2 separate regions of the Homo sapiens genome follow, and region 2 is linked to region 1. The links are contacts of gene promoters, found by promoter capture Hi-C in blood cells and fetal thymus (Javierre and others, 2016). All regions are on one chromosome and are shown on one strand. Each heading gives the region's core, a stretch centred on a gene start or on the middle of the fragment in contact. The rest is flanking DNA. Distances are from core to core; before and after follow the strand shown. Region 1 holds the start of MTHFR (methylenetetrahydrofolate reductase). Region 2 holds the start of DFFA (DNA fragmentation factor subunit alpha).

Region 1 (4,505 bases), core at 432-2,931:
ACTAAAAATATAAAAATTAGCCAGGTTTGGTGGCGGGCGCCTGTAATCCCAGCTACTCTGGAGGCTGAGGCAGGAGAATCGCTTGAACCCGGAAGGCAGAGGTTGCAGTGAACCAAGATTGTGCCATAGCACTCCAGCCTGGGCGACAAAAGCAAAACTCCATCTCAAAAAAAAAAACAAAAACAAAAAACAGAAACAAGTAATCAGAGCCACCAGGGCACAGACAGGCCAACAGAGGGCATAGGGTCATCTGGCAGTCTGGTTAAGAAAATAAGACAAACACTTAAAAACAAACAAAACACTTGCACAGCAATGGGCAAACACACAGTAGTGAATGGGTGTGTGGTGACATGGCACAACAGAGGAAAGCCCAGGTGAGGTTCATTTCTTTCAGACTGTCCACCACTAACCCTGTGTACCTAACCATTTGGGGTCTTAGACTCTTTTGACAATCTGATTAAATGCACTGCTCCCTTCCCCTGAAATACACACACAGGTGCACAGACTACACGGGGATACATCCAAAGACAAGGAGTTGATTCCAGACTAAGAACCCTGGGCCAAAGCTTTCTCCCTCTAGGGCTGCTCTCTTTCATTCTGACCTCAAACTCCAGATTCTCAGTGGGGATGGCTGTGGGGAGTGAGGAACGGGGGCGGGGGGGAGGAGTAACAGCAAGAGCAGCCAGTTGGCTTTCCTCCAGCGTTTAAGGGCGCACCTCGTTAATTGCTTGCTGGAACAGAACCTAGAGTAGGAGGAAGCTGAACCACCTGTAAACCCTCTGATTTTCAAAGACTTATTGCATTCCTAGTATATGCCACGCATGTGCCATATTTGTAAGCCAACTCCCACGATTTATCCGTTATCAGCTGGACTCCCATAGCACCCTGGGTTGTAACTGTGGGTGAAAAGGCCTGTCTCCTTTCTCTTTCCCCAGTTCCCTGAGACAGGACCGGTGTCCTGCCTGGGGTATCCCCAGAGTTTGGCACACGGTGATAGCCAACATTCACTGAGCGCCAAAGGGCCAGGTGCTGCCACTCTCTCAAAATAAGCCTCTGCCACTTACTGAACAACTAGTCTGCGCCAAGCACTGGGATACTAAGCCTACGACTCCCAGAAAGGTCCCGGCGGACCCCCGTGCGCAGCGGGACGCAGTGGGCGCCAGGGACCGCAGTGCCCCGGGCCCAGCGCTCTTCTCCAGGTGATCGCCGGGGAGGCAGGTTTAAAAGGCAGGAGCCGGAAGCCGTCTCGGCGCCCAGGTGGCCGAGAATCCAGTCACCAGGTCACTGAGTCACCGATGGGGGCGAGGACACGGGCCTGGGCCGGTCAGAGGGGCGGGATCGTCACCCCTGGCTCAGGGGCCCCTCCGTCCAGGCAGGGAGCCAAAGTCAGTCTTCGCTTGAGGGTTGGCGGTCGCTGGAAGTGGTAGCCATTGGGAGTTACACTAATCCCGCGAAGGGTGCGCAAGGGAGGCGGCAGCCCCCCCCAAGAAGAGAGGCAGGCCGGCCTCCAGCGCTCCCCGCCCACAAGCACGTCCTTGCCCCCGGGAGGTTGTTTGCCGGCTCCAGGATCTCCCTCCCGGCGACCCCGGCCTCGCCGTCACTCACCCTCCAGTCCCGGGTGACTCAGAACGCTCGGCCGCCGGCCGCACCACTGTGGCCGCTGCAGGGGCGGGGAACGCAGTGAAGGGGCGCGGCGCAGGTGTCAGGTTGCTGGAGAGGCGGGCCTACAGGGCGGAAACCACCGGCGCGGGTGACCGGAAGCCCCGCCCCCAACATGGCCGTGCCCACAGGTCTCGTTGGAGGCCGTGCCTTTATCGTCATGTGACGCGAGTCCTCGCCCCACCCGTCTGCAGCCACTCCTGGTCTCAGTCCCAGAGCTCGAGAGGGCCACGTGACCGTCCCGGGGCCAGTCACGTGAGGCGCAGATCCTGGCTGGGAGGGGGTTGGTAGAGGGGTCCAGAGTGGCAGTAAAGGAGGAAGATGGCGGGGTGCAGGGGGTCTCTGTGCTGCTGCTGCAGGTGGTGCTGCTGCTGCGGTGAGCGTGAGACCCGCACCCCCGAGGAGCTGGTAAGAAGCCGGCGGAGTCGGCCTGGGGAGGGGGCGGTTGCTAAGGGACTGAGAGAGGCGTTGCCGGGGGTGGGGCCGGGCCAATCTGGGCCCGCAGGTGGCAGCGGGTGGGGCCTGGGGACCGCAGCCAGGGCTCTCGAAGCGTCTACCCTGCTTCACGTGCCTAAGTCTGGGGTCTTTTCTCATAACCCCTCCTGGAATCTGAGGGAGAATCCAGGCCAGCTCCAGTAAATCCCACCCATGTTTCCTTTTATTTCCATCTGAAAAGAGTTTGGAATGAAACAAGCGTTTTCAGAATGAGCTTCCTCACAGGACTTTGTGCTTATCATGCTGCTGTTTTAGCTTCTCCAGTCCTTTCTCACTCTATCCCTCACCCTTTCTGGGTCACTGACAGTCCAGCTTCCCCCTGCAAAGCATCCTGGGAAAACTTGAGTTGTGTTCCCAGAGTTGACAAGTCCTTTCTGATTTCAGATACGTCACACTGTCAAATGGAACCTGCATTTTTACCCCCCTTTTCAGCTGGCGTTGGACATCTTTGAGGTGTCCTGAAGAGGAGGGTGGTTATTTGGAGACTATCAGTGGAAATGAAGAGCTCAGCTGATGGCTGTAGATCCTCACCCACATGGTCCCTCACCCCTGAAAGGTTTTTTTTGAGGGCTGGTTCCTATTTGATAATGGCTCCAGATGATTTAGAAGCTAGCCACTGATTTCAGTAAATACTTCTGCCTCCTTCCACTCCTAACCACTAAAAAAGGCTCCCTCTGCGGATCTGTTTTTCTAGACCATCCTTGGAGAAACACAGGAGGAGGAGGATGAGATTCTTCCAAGGAAAGACTATGAGGTGAGCTCCTTTGATACTGCTTGGGCAACTAAAGTAGTGAGTGGCCTGGTCACTTCAGGCCGAAGCATTATGATTCCAACCAGAGATGCTCTTTGACCTTCTGTCCCAGGGAGTGAGTGGGTAAGAGAACTTCCTTCTAGGAAAGAGACTGTTTAGCAAGCCCTTTTCTCACCTTAACCCCAAAACAAGGTCTGGTGTTTTTACACGTTTATAAATCTGTGGCACCTTAACCTGGATAGAGTATGTATTTGCCATTAAACTGTTTGCTTTTACAGCTTACAGAGAGACTTAGAGTGAAAGGCACTGGCAGGCAGTATGTGCCCCTAACAGGTGTGTGCTTATAAACTGTTAAGGAGGCCTTGCTTCTCTTCTAGGAGAGCTTGCTTTTCAGATATTTTCTTGCTCAAGCAGCTTCTCTCTGACATGTTCTTGATTAAGTTCCACCTTTCATGTATGGGATTCTTAGAGTATGTGTTTTTAGTAAAGCCAACACTGCTGGGGTGAAACAACATGCGTGACTTTTTATCATTAAATTCTTAAACGTAATAAAGAAGGTAGAGAAAAGCCTATAACTCCATTCATTAAAAGATGACTGTTAACACCTTACTAAGTATCTTTCTACATCCTTACCCATGCTTTTATATACATGATACATGCTTTTTTTAAGTAACAAAAATGAGATTCCACTAAATCATCTATTTTAACCTGTCCCACTCACCCCCTTTATTATACTTTTTGTATCATTAGGTAATTTTCCACAACCTTTTCTTTTTTTTGACAGAGTCTCACTCTTCCATAAATTCTTCATGCTGTAGAATTTAGTGTCAGCGTTAGGATTTGTAGCACTTTTTTGTTTAACTTTTATTATGAAGGATTTCAACTATATGCAAAAACAGAATAATCTGTTGAAACCCCTTGTCCTCATCACACAGCTTCCACAGTGATTTAGCTCAAGCCCAGTCTTCTTTTGTCTGTGCTTTCGTTATCCACTTCTCCTTTCTCATATTATTATTTTTTATTGTATGTGTGTGTGTGTTTGTGTGTGTGTGTGTGTGTGTGTGTGTGTGTGTGTGTGTGTGTTTTAAAGTAAAGACAGTCTCCCTATGTTGCCCAGGCTGTTCTCGAACTCCTTGACACCAGCGATCCTCCCATGTCAGCCTCCCAAAGTTCTGGGATTACAGTCATGATCTACCATACCTGGCCGCCCTTCCCATGTTATTTTGAAAGAAATTCTGTACATCATATTATTTCACCCATAATTCTATATGCATCTCTAATGGATAAGGACTTTTAAAAAGCATAACCCAATACTATTACCACATCTAAAAAATTAGGAATTTCTTGATATCAAATATCTACTGTCCAGATTTTCCAGTTTTCTTGTAAATGTCATATGTATTTTAACTTTATTTGAATTAGGTTCCAAAAGTCCTTTTTTATTTGTTTGATAAATCTGTTAAATCTCTTTTAATCTGTAGCTTCTTCCTTCATCTTTTTTTTTTTTTTGTAAGTTATTTGACAACATAATTAGGACCTGGGATTTTCTACTGTCTAGATTTTGCCATTTGGAGCCGTTTGTATAGTTTAATATGCTACT
Region 2 (4,431 bases), core at 1,634-4,133, 1.3 Mb before region 1:
GAGTAGTTGGGATTATAGGCGTGCACCACCATGTCCGGCTAATTTTTGTATTTTTAGTAGAGACGTGGTTTCACCATGTTGACCAGGCTGGTCTCGAACTCCTGACCTCATGATCCACCCGCCTTGGCCTCCCAAAGTGCTGGGATTAGAGGCATGAGCCACTGTGCTCAGCCCTAAGTGCTTTTCTTTCTTTCTTTTTTTTTTTTTTTGAGACAGGCTGGCGTGCAGTAGTACAATCTTGGTTCACAGCAACCTCCGCCTCCCGGGTTCAAGCAACTCTCTGCCTTAGTCTCCCGAGTAGCTGGGACTACAGGCACCGGCCACCGTGCCTGGCTAATTTTTGTATTTTTAGTAGAGACGGGGTTTCACCATCTTGGCCAGTCTGGTCTGGAACTCCCGACTTAATGATCTACCTGCCTCGGCCTCCCAAAGTGCTAGGATTACAGGCATGAGCAACCGCGCCTGGCCTAAGTGCTTTTCATATACAGTATTTAATCTCATAATAATCCTGTAAAGTAGGTACTTTTATTAGTTCTGTTTTATAGATGATGAACCCAAGGCTCAGAGAGGTTAAGTAACTTGTCTAAGATCACACAGTAAGTGGCAAAGCTGGGATTTAAACCCACAAAGTCTGGCTCCTGAAAGTATGTTTACTCCAGCTACTCCACACTCATGTATGGTAGGCATTTGAGTTTTTACTGGAGTGAACAACCAATCAAAGTCTAGTTTGATTCCTTGCAAACAAGCAGTCTCTCATTCATTTATTCAGTTTTCCTCTTTTTTTTTTTTTTTTTTTTGAGACGGAGTCTCACTCTGTCGCCCAGGCTGGAGTGCCCAGGCGCTATCTGGGCTCACTGCAAGCTCCGCCCCCCGGGTTCACGCCATTCTCCTGCTTCAGCCTCCGGAGTAGCTGGGATTACAGGCGCCCACCACCACGCCCGGCTAATTTTTTTGTATTTTTAGTAGAGACGGGGTTTCACCGTGTTAGCCAGGATGGTCTCGATCTCCTGACCTCGTGATCCGCCCACCTCGGCCTCCCAAAGTGCTGGGATTACAGGTGTGAGCCACCGGACCCGGCCCTCAGGTGTCCTCTTAAATTCTCCTATGTGTAAAAATGTCAAAAAATACACCAAAAAGGCCAGGCACGGTGGCTCACGTCTGTAATCCCAGCACTTTGGGAGGCCGAGGCGGGTGGATCACAAAGCAGGCAATCGAGACCATCCTGGCTAACATGGTGAAAAACCGTCTCTGCTAAAAAATACAAAAAATTAGATGGGCGTGGTGGTGGGCGCCTGTAGTCCCAGCTACTCGGGAGGCTGAAGCAGGAGAATGGAGTGAACCCGGGAGGCGGAGCTTGCAGTGAGCCGAGATAGCGCCACTGCACTCCAGCCTGGGTGACAGAGTGACACTCCGTCTCAAAAAAAAAAAAAAAAAAAGAAAATGCTTTTTGTTCTTTACAGTATCTTCCTTAGCAGCTTCTTTTCTAACCTATGGGAAAGTATAAAAGAAGTGGAAGCTTCTATCAGTAGCTTTTCATATCATTATCATTGGCGGAGAGGCTTTCTCCAGGACAGGTCTGTACTATTCCATTTAGTGATAGCAATGCTTCAAATACTAACGGGACTGGAGTGATCAGAAATAGCCAAGAGACTACAAATATCCTTCAGCGGTGTTGTCTACCACCCAATAGAACAGCAAGGCATGTATGCGCTGGACTGCAGAGAACACCAGCCTCTGTGCCACGCACATCCAGCCACGGCACTGAAGGGGAATTAGAAGTAAAGTAATCTAATGTCAGGAAAAAAAATACATAAATGCTTATATGCAAAATCCATGTTACCAAAGCATTTATAATGCTTTGGCTGTTCATGGGTCTCTGAAAATTTCCATATGATTTCTGTTGGTGACTGAGAGGAAGCAACTGTGCCCTCTGACACACACTGTGACTACATGCCTGGGGCTGGCTCACACATGTAACCTGTAAAACTTCTTTGGGTAAGCGATTTGTTGCTACTGGCTAATAAGACTTGTAAGTCACTTAAATATATCATCTTATTTGAGAGAACCAACAACCCTTTGAAGCAGGGCTATAAATATTATACCCAATTTGCTGATGAGAAAACTGAGGGTTGAGAGCTGGTTAAGTGCAAGGCCAAGCAGCTGGTAAAGGTATGGGGCCGGGCTCGGAACTTCCGTCGGCTCCGTCACTTACAACTCACGTTCCTTGTCTGGACCTCCAGAAATGGTCAGTAGCAGCTCCCTCTTTCCTGCATAGGTTCCTGCCAGAGCGGACGGTGGAAACCCCTCCCCACACCGCCGTGGGCTCAGCTGGGGGTTCTTGTACCATCTGAGTGTGGCGGAGTGGCAGGAACCCAGTGGGGTCCGTTTGGTCCAACATCGAAGTGATTTCAGGCAAGAGACCTAAGCCGAGTCTGGCTTAATTTGCACATTGCTTCCTGGCTGTCTTCCCACCACCGTGGAGTCTCACACGAGATTAATTACGCTCAAGCGCCTTAAATCTGTAAATCGCTATGCCCACTCGGACCGTTTCTGTCCCAAGCCTCCACCCGAGATACAAGAATCCCCAAGTCGCCTCTCCTGACCCCGCCTCGCCCCCGCCGGACGTCCTCACCCGGCCCTGGCTCCCCCACACCCTCGCCCGGGGTCCCGAGCCAACCCTTGCTCCTCAGGTCTTCGAGGCAGGAGGCGGCCACGCCGTGCTGTTCGCGGCTGTAGTTGCGGCGCAGCAGACACGGCTTTAGAGTCCGGATCTCGCCAGATTCTGGTACCCCGGCGTCCCCGGTCACCTCCATCCTCCACAAGGTGGGACCTGCCCACCTTCGAGAAGTCGCGGGAGGCCGGAGCGGCGGTCCTTCTACTCGACCCCCTTCCGCAGCCTGCCGGGAGATGTAGTTCGTTCCGCAGCAAATCACACGTGAGACCAGGGCACGCCGGGAAATGTAGTTCTAGTTGCCGCTAATCACGTGTGGCGTCGAAGCATGCCGGAAACTGTAGTCTCTGGGTTTAAAGCCGCTTTCGTTCTATCGCGCGATTCAGCCTAGGAGTTGTTTTTAACTTTTAGGAGCTGCATTCGCGCGTTCAAATATAAGGCCAATAGAGACTTATTTTGCATGACGATGCACACGCATGTATACTGTATTGAATTTTTAGAGCATTCCTATTCGCATATGAGATGCATAATGCTAATACAGACACCCGCATGTTTCCACCCATTCTATTTCCTGCTTCAACTGTGCAAATTAGTTTGGGGTCTCAGAACAAAACGCTTAAATAAATATAGTAAGCATTAAAGTCTCAAATGCATCGGAGAGGAAAGGGGAAATGCGACTCGGCACTGTTGGAGATTGTTCAGATGCCTCTTGACAACATATTCATCTTTGTTTTAATACTGCTACTATGGAAAAGTTTGTTTTTTTCCTCCTGAAAAATAAACATCTAAGATTAAAAGAATAGTAATAAAAATGATCAAAAAGTTCCTCTCTTAAAAGAGGGCATTTTATGTAAACTAGAAGTAATTATCTGCTCATATTTATTCATTCGGGGGACACTTTCCTTCCTTGTTTCTTTTTTCTTTTTTTGAGACAGCGTTTCGCTCTGTCTCCCAGGCTGGAGTGCAGTGGCGCGATGATGGCTCACTGCAGTTTTGATCTCCTGGGCTCAAGCAATCCTCCCACCTCATATTTTGTTTATAAAAACGTGGGCAAGGGCCCCGGGGGCGGTGGCTCACCCCTGTAATCTCAGCACTTTAGGAGGCCGAGGCGGACAGATGATCTGAGGTCAGTAGTTTGAGACCAGCCTGGCCAGCATGGTGAAACCCTATCTCTACTAAAAATACAAAAATTAGCCGGGCGTGATGGCGCACGCCTGTAGTCCCAGCTCTTGGGAGGCTGAGGCAGGTGAATCGCTTGAACCCGGGAGGCGGAGGTTGCAGTCGGCCCAGATCGCACCATTGCACTCCAGCCTGGGCGTCAGGAGCAAGACTTCGTCTCAAGCAAAAACAAAAACAAAAGCAAAAACAAACAAAAAAAACGTGGGAGAGGAAATTGGATATTATCTCAAGAAAAGTTTAGACATTTAAAACAGCGTTTAGTAGGAGGAATTATTCATTAAGTCATCCCTTTTAAGCAGTCTATATTGATCAAAACACAACTATAATAGGAGCTGGCGGTTAACTCTAATGTATGTATCCTTTTTCATATAATTTCATTTTTTATTTTCTTATCTTATTTTTAGACAAGGTCTCGCTCTGTCGCCCAGGCTGGAGTGCAGTGGCATAATCATAGTTCACTGCAGCCTCAACCTCCTGGGCTCAAGGGATCCTCCTGCCTTGGCCTCCTAAAGTGTTGGGATTACAGGTGTGAGCCACTGCTCCCGTCCAATATTTAATTTAAAATCTAACAATTAAAAAAA

What was found. Contacts are between HindIII fragments. The CHiCAGO score rates a contact against its expected background, and 5 or more counts as called.
Region 2: a contact is called between the fragment with the promoter of DFFA here and the fragment with the promoter of MTHFR in region 1, in 1 of 17 cell types (total CD8 T cells). The highest score is 6.8, in total CD8 T cells.

Annotation. Positions count from the first base shown.
Region 1 is chr1:11,804,283-11,808,787 of GRCh38, forward strand. It overlaps MTHFR (methylenetetrahydrofolate reductase), which reads right to left and starts at 1,682. Exons shown (of 12, transcript NM_005957.5): 1 at 1,606-1,682. It overlaps CLCN6 (chloride voltage-gated channel 6), which reads left to right and starts at 1,909. Exons shown (of 23, transcript NM_001286.5): 1 at 1,909-2,067; 2 at 2,849-2,908. The coding sequence starts at 1,981. RefSeq lists enhancers at 1-257, 1,554-2,539, 1,737-1,846, 1,857-1,936, 2,387-2,456 and silencers at 1,367-1,416, 1,437-1,486, 2,157-2,206. The HindIII fragment of the contact is 7,586 bases long and covers 565-4,505 here.
Region 2 is chr1:10,469,646-10,474,076 of GRCh38, forward strand. It overlaps DFFA (DNA fragmentation factor subunit alpha), which reads right to left and starts at 2,884. Exons shown (of 6, transcript NM_004401.3): 1 at 2,678-2,884. The coding sequence starts at 2,813. RefSeq lists enhancers at 2,353-2,452, 4,414-4,431. The HindIII fragment of the contact is 4,411 bases long and covers 1,515-4,431 here.